2 separate regions of the Homo sapiens genome follow, and region 1 is linked to region 2. The links are contacts of gene promoters, found by promoter capture Hi-C in human tissues and cell types (Jung and others, 2019). All regions are on one chromosome and are shown on one strand. The core of a region is centred on a gene start or on the middle of the fragment in contact, and the rest is flanking DNA. Distances in the headings are between cores, read along the strand shown.

Region 1 (3,756 bases), core at 1,144-3,643, 120 kb after region 2:
TAGGAGAGATATGAGACAGCAGAAAAGTATCAGACGATTCAGGATGCTAGGACCCATCTACAATCCAAGCTGAAAGTACATGGTTTACAATATGTTTTCTAGTTGCCTTTGTTGGGTTTGATGCTGATATACTTACACATCATCCCCAATGTCACCAGCCCAATCAGCAACATCAGGCAAAGAGTTACCAGACCCAGAGCAGCATGACGCCAAATGGGAGATGGAGCTGGATGCCCTGGAGAAAGCCAAAAGAGCAATCAGCACACAGAACTGCTTTGTGCTTGTTTCACTTTGGTTTGTTTATTTCTCCCACTTAGGGAGCTTCCCGATACTAACGTTTCTTTCTTGCTTCTTTAATGCCCTCATTTAGAAAATACCTAATATGAAGTGCAATGAGGGTGCCATCCTTGTTTCCCCTCCATTTCTCCACCGCTCTCCTTCACTTTAAGAGGAAGCTTCGTTGGGGGAGGGGGGAGGCATACCTTTAGGAGATATACCTAATGCTAAATGACGAGTTAATGGGTGCAGCACACCAGCATGGCACATGTATACATATGTAACTAACCTGCACATTGTGCACATGTACCCTAAAACTTAAAGTATAATAATAATAAAATAAAAAGGAAGCTTCTCCTAATTTCAAGGTTTTTGTTTTACATCATTGCCCACTTTTCTTCCTCAAGTTTATTGAATTCATAAATGAGAGATCTAAAAACTGCTTTTCTGGATGATGCTGACAGTAGGAGACACCTCAAGCTTTTGAGCTCAAAAGTCTCTATAAGGCACATGTTCTATCTGCCTTGTAAAAGTGGATTCGACTTTTTAAAGTATCTTTTACCTGTTAACAATAACTTATCTATTATTCATGCTATTTATCACCTAATAAATAATGAATGAATACTGAATGAAAGAAGGAAAGAATGTGCAGTCTAACCTACAAACAGCAGAATAGACCAGAAAGCCGTTAGCATCCTAGTCATTGTTGTTGTTTAAAATATCAATGGTTGTCATGTTTTCCTTAGCTTCATATCCCTTGATTTAGGTCCAAATAACATCTAGCGCAATGTTTTAGATACAGCATGACAGACTCTAGGTACACTGTGATATGCACCATATCCACACCTCCTTTTTCCTCACAGGTTAGAATTAGAATTAAAAAGTAAAACAAAACAAGGCAAAAATGTGTAACCACATTTATTAGACATATGCAAAGTCTATTCCCATCGGCTTTTTGTAAATATCCTTCCCTCAAATGTCATGCACCACACAAAATGTAAAGATAAATCTAGAGGGCAGGAGAAAGTAGTTCAGATGACTGACATGATTCAGGAGAACCTGGATAGTTAACATATCTGAAAATAAGAGATGTGGTCTTATATATTAAATCAGAGTCTTGACCATGGAGACTGCTATTTTTCCAATTAGGCATAAGAGAATGAGCTGAAGACCAGCACTGAGACTGGGCTTCCCCACATAGCAGTTGTGTGAGCTTGCTTAAATTATCTAATTTCTCTCACCCTCAGTTTTTTCATCTATGTAATGGAGAAAATACTAATATTCGAATATTATTGTGGATTTTCATTACAATTATATCTGTATATAATGTACATAAAATACTACCCAGATACTATTATTACTGGTTCAACATTACAAATTATGCTCGGATTTCAACTACCCTAAAATTTGAAAAAATACTGACAAAAGAAAAATTAGCTCTGATCTATTTCTAATCCACTCACTCATCTTCCAGTTTTCTCTTAAGTAACTTACATCATCTAAAAGAAAAACGTCCTCTACCTTCTCTATTTTAGAAGCCTCCAATCTGGTTTCTGAAAGAATATCCTCCTGGCATCTCTAACAAGGTATAAATATCAAGGATTATATTCATAAGAAGAAATCTCTAATTCCCCAAGCTCAATTTCTGGCATGTGCAGTCAGAATTTCTCTGACTGTGTGATATCACACAACTTTAAAGAGGTTCTGAAAGCCACATATTTTCACTTCAACCTTGGGAACACTCACTTTTCTAATACATTCCACAACTATTTGTCCCCATTTTGGAGATTTCACAGCACATGTCTTTAACGCCAGTATTAAAGCTGGCACCTCAAAGCATTTAACACCTGTCCACTCCCCCAAGGACACAGCTGGTCTTCTCTGAACTCCTACCTCTTTTTCTTAGGTTATTTCCATCTCGGTTATTCCTTGCTCCAGCAGAATCCTGAAATGTGAGTGTCGCGTAGGTCACTTCTTCAGACATTGTAGAAGAAAACGCTACTTTAAATTATCTAATTAATGTTTCAATATCTTGAGGCCTGGGAACAGCATGTGTTTTTCAAGGCTGGGAGCTTTGATGTAGTCACTCAGCTGACCCAGACACACTCTACTGCCCCTCTGTAAGAGAAGAATGACAATTTGTTTCTCTACAGAGAAAGTGAGAAAAGCCAAATATTCTCCTTAGAGATATTCTCATTAGAATGTTACAGATCTCAAACTGTCTGCTCTGTCAGAACTGTTTCTTGCTGTGCAGCAAAGAAGGGGTGCTTGAGGCAGAGCAGGAGGAACATGAGGGAATTCCCATGATCCTCGGGGTAGAGGATGCTCTGAATGTTTCAGAAAAGAGTCAGGTTGTCTTCTTTACATCTATCTAAGGCTAGCTAATCTGCCTGGAGACATTGGTTCTAGTTTATTCTCAGCCACATTAGATATTAAGCAGAGAGACACACATTAAGACAGAAAGAGCTGTGCCACACACCTGGCTGCTATTATAGAAAATTCAAGCGTGTGTGTGTGTGTGTGTGTGTGTGTGTGTGTGTGTGAGAGAGAGACAGAGAGAGACAGAGAGAGAGAGACAGAGAGAGAGAGACATGGTGTTGGTAATGGAGCATGGAGAAGAAACTGATAGCTACTTAGCTACTTAACGTGAGTATGAATGGGAGTGCCCTCTTCTGGCATGGTTGGGAAAGTTCCTAACAGAACAACAACCATGGGATAATCCTGCAGACAGCAAGGAATACACAGGACAAGATTTTAAAAAGATAACTACCGGAAGTTAATACATCTGTGGTAATTTGTTACAGCAGCAATATGTAGTTAATACAGAACCCAGGAAAATATGGGGGGGGAGCGCTATATATGAGGGACGAAATTAAGGAATCTCCTCTAAAGCTTTCCTTTGGGGAGAGGCAGAATATTAGATAACTGTACTTAGGGGAAGGATTGGGTATGAGTTTTGTGGTTTCAGATGAGTGGGGAGTGATCTAAAACTTCCAAGGTTCATATCTGTGTGGAGATTATCTTAGTCAAAGGTGTCCAGCGTGAGGTGCACTCACCCCACAGCTGTGAAGCAGATGCAGAAAGGCAATGTAAAAACTTTCTCTTTAGGAACGCTGTGCATGATCTCTAAACACCTAAATATACATATGTTACTTGTTCATGTTTTTTGTTTTTTTTTTTTTCAAATTGATGAAATAATCAAAAAAATGTTTGGAGGCTCTAAGTCATATATCAATAAAACTCCACTATCAAAAATATTGAAACAAATAATAAATCTATGCTTATGTTTACTATTCTAGTTGAATTCAGAAAAGGCAGAGACCATTGACATGAGGACCAGTTTAAATAGATGATTACAAAAATAAGAAATTAAGAATGGTTTTCTATCTCTGTTCTGGTCCGTGTCCGGAGTTGGTTCCTGCCGGTGGGTTCCTGGTCTCGCTGACTTCAAAAATGAAGCCGCGGACCTTTGCGGTGAGG
Region 2 (3,387 bases), core at 317-2,816:
GAACCCGGGAGGCGGAGGTTGTGGTGAGCCGAGATCGTGCCATTTGCACACCAGCCTGGGCAACAAGAGCGAAATTTCGTCTAAAAAAAAAAAAAGAAAGAAAAGAAAAATAAATCTTACAGTTAAATTCTTTCTCTGCCCTTTGAGAAGCAAATCTACCACACAGAACTGTTTCTTCAAGGACTTGGGAGCTGTTTCTTTGAAATGCAAACATTCAGGGAGATAAATCTTGCTCTTTCTTTCAGATGCAGCATAAGGACCAACTTAGCTGGGTGCTTCACTTCAACTATCACCATGTCCTTCTGTCATATAGATAGGCAAAGTTTCTCTGTCCTCTGGATAAGGGCCAATTAACAAATCCAGAGAGTCTAGTCACATTAACTTTCCTTAACACCACTCAGTATCTTTTCCTTAGCAAACTCCACTTTAAAATGTCATCAGCTTTACTTTTGGGGAAGTTGAGTTCAGTTAATGCTGCACTGGTTCCTGTTGCAATAGTATTACTGAATAAAACCTGTCCTCACCACATTAACTAGTATCCAGATTTGTTGATCCTTGACAACACTCAGATGTCTCCTGCACTCTACTGGCTTCAAGGTCGGATAAATGAGTTGAACACCTCTTCAGTTTCCAGCAATGTTAGGTGTTTTCTATATTTCTTTGATTTGATCATTACTATGGAAACTGGAAGAGAGGGAAAAAAAATCAAACATCTAACATAATATTTCAGTCCCAACACCTTCCATAAGCTGTTCCTTGCAATATAAGTGTATGGAATGATGAAAGAGGCAGTGTAGCGTAACAGAAAAGACCACGAGTTTTGCAGCAAGAGTCAGCTTTGATTTGATTCCTTGCTCTAAATTTTTAAAATTAGCTTCTTAAACCTGAGAAAGAGGCTAAATTTTCTGTCTCATTTTTTCATTTGAAAATAGAAATAATAATGCCTACTATATAGACTTGGAAAAGTGAGATTGAACAAGAAAATATGTACAACATGTGGTACTTAGCTCATAGTAATTGTTCAATAAATGTTATTTTGTGTTAATATCTGATAATTCCCAAAGAGATTTGTTTTCTCTGTCTGTTGTTACAACAATGCATCTCCTCATGCCATCCCTCATTTACCTATCTATATATTTCCTTTATTAAGCAATGAGTTTCTTCATAGGTATCATTTTTCCTTGTATTGTAAGCTCCTACCAATTGAAAAGGTGGGCATCCAGTACCTGTTTATGTAATTTAAAAAATACATGAATAAATACATGAACAAAGTTATGGTAAACTTGGAGCACCAAAACTGAAATAGTTTGCATCGGTTAAATTAATTAATGTCAGACTTAGTTGTGAGAGTAATGAAGGCAGCATAAGACATTAATGTATGCATTTTTCTTACATTTGGTCTGAAACAAAGACTCATCTGCTATGCTGCCTTTTAGTTTTCCTGAGTCAGCAGTCTCAGAAACAGGATCTAAAGGTACAAATGGAAAATTACCACAGCATAGTTTCATTTCCTGCTCTTGAATATCTGGTTGAACTACTTAAGCTTAATTTGTTAAACTCCGGTAAGTACCTAGCCCACATGATTTGACTCAGAGATTCTCTTTTGTCCACAGACAGTCATCTCAGGAGCAGAAAGAAAAGAGCTCCCAAATGCTATATCTATTCAGGGGCTCTCAAGAACAATGGAATATCATCCTGATTTAGAAAATTTGGATGAAGATGGATATACTCAATTACACTTCGACTCTCAAAGCAATACCAGGATAGCTGTTGTTTCAGAGAAAGGTATATATATGTTTTTTCTAATGTGTGCCTTTAGCTCTCCCGTTTGAAAAGATATAAGGGGAGGCTAGGCATGGTGGCTCACACCTGTAATCCCAGCACTTTGGGAGGCCGAGGCGGGTGGATTGACTGAGGTCAGGAGTTCGAGGCCAGCTTGGCTAACGTGGTGAAACTCTGTCTCTACTAAAAATACAAAAATTAGCCGGGCATGGTGGTGCACGCCTGTAGTTCCAGGTACTTGGGAGGCTGAGGCAGGAGAATCACTTGAACCTGGGAGGTGGAGGTTGCAGTGAGCCAAGATCATGCCAATGCACTCCAGCCTGGGTGGCAGAGCAAGACTCCATCTCTGAAAAAAAATAAAAATAAAAACAAAACAAAAAGATATAAGGGGAGAAAATTTGAGAGCCTCGTGATGTGTATATTTTTATGGATATACTTTTAAAGGCTTCAGATGTCACTGAAGATAAATTGAATGCACCCTAAACCTTTTTTCATGAAAATTATTCAGTGACCAATTATTAGTGTTTAAATTAATTATGTCTGATGGCAGAAAATAGAATTTCTCTTTTCTATAGATATAGACATTTCATCAGTGAGGAATTGGTAATAAGTGGGATAATACACAAAGATAAAGGATTTCTGTATGAGTGACTTGTTGCTTGTTTGATAGAAAGGCTAGATTATCGAATGGAGGCCAGGAAACTTAAAGAAGTATATATATGAACAACATTTTTTTTTTGTGGTAAGAGATTAATTTAAATTGTTTTTAAACAAAAAACAATTATTGGTATACCAGTGATGGAAAATATATGAACATATGGTAGATAAAAACATCCCACCAGCAGGACATGAGTCTTAAACAAAGTGTAAATGAAATGAAATAGAAAGAAGGGCATTGGAGGATCTCTGTATTCATAGAATGGGTGATTTAGCCTACTCTACGATTCTCCTATGTGACAATTCTATGAAATGTCCTGACAGCTTAGTCACAGTGGAAAGCAGAAATACATTCTGGTTATGGCAATGTTCATACAAAATTAGTTCCCTATTATCTTTGAGAGAGAGAGATCATTTGTCGGTTTTGACACCAGAGTTTGCTTTCTTCTGCTTTCTGGTTATTCACACTGCACAAATATTTTCCTCTCAGCACTGATGTAATTCTTTTCTTGGGCAACCTATTGAGGAAGCGTGGAAAAAGTGGATGAGGCAAGAGGTAGGGAGACATGCGCATGTTTATGCATATGTGTAGGCAAACGGTATCCTGCAACAACACACCTATCATGTGCTAGCAGTCTCTAAACAAGGTGCTTTTATATGTGTTAGCTCGTTTAATTCCCGCAATAATCCTTTGAGATATTATTACCCCAGTTTCACAAAGAGGAATAAAAAACAACAAAGGGAGTAATTTGCCCAGGGTCATGCAACAAACATATGAAAAGGGAAAATTACCCTTAGTAATCAGTGCTATCTCCCCAACATTAAGCTATTTCCTCTAAGAATCAGTGGGATTTCAGGGATCCTACTAATGTCAAGACCTGTAGATGTCAATGTGGAACTGAAATTAGGAGCATACAGTTATCAAGCCAATGTGCCGAAATTACAATT

Evidence for each region. The method cuts DNA at HindIII sites, captures the fragments that hold promoters and counts their contacts. A contact is called where the count stands out against the background at its distance.
Region 1: the fragment with the promoter of CLEC12B here is called in contact with the fragment with the promoter of CLEC7A in region 2 in 3 of the 25 tissues and cell types used here (hippocampus, lymphoblastoid cells and thymus).

Annotation. Positions count from the first base shown.
Region 1 is chr12:10,009,264-10,013,019 of GRCh38, reverse strand. CLEC12B (C-type lectin domain family 12 member B) reads right to left here and starts at 2,393. Exons shown (of 6, transcript NM_001129998.3): 1 at 2,170-2,393; 2 at 137-235. The coding sequence starts at 2,260. The HindIII fragment of the contact is 4,454 bases long and covers 1-3,683 here.
Region 2 is chr12:10,128,378-10,131,764 of GRCh38, reverse strand. CLEC7A (C-type lectin domain containing 7A) reads left to right here and starts at 1,566. Exons shown (of 6, transcript NM_197947.3): 1 at 1,566-1,785. The coding sequence starts at 1,683. It overlaps LOC105369655 (a long non-coding RNA gene), which reads right to left. Exons shown (of 4, transcript XR_007063208.1): 2 at 525-684; 3 at 1-80. The HindIII fragment of the contact is 18,210 bases long and covers 1-3,387 here.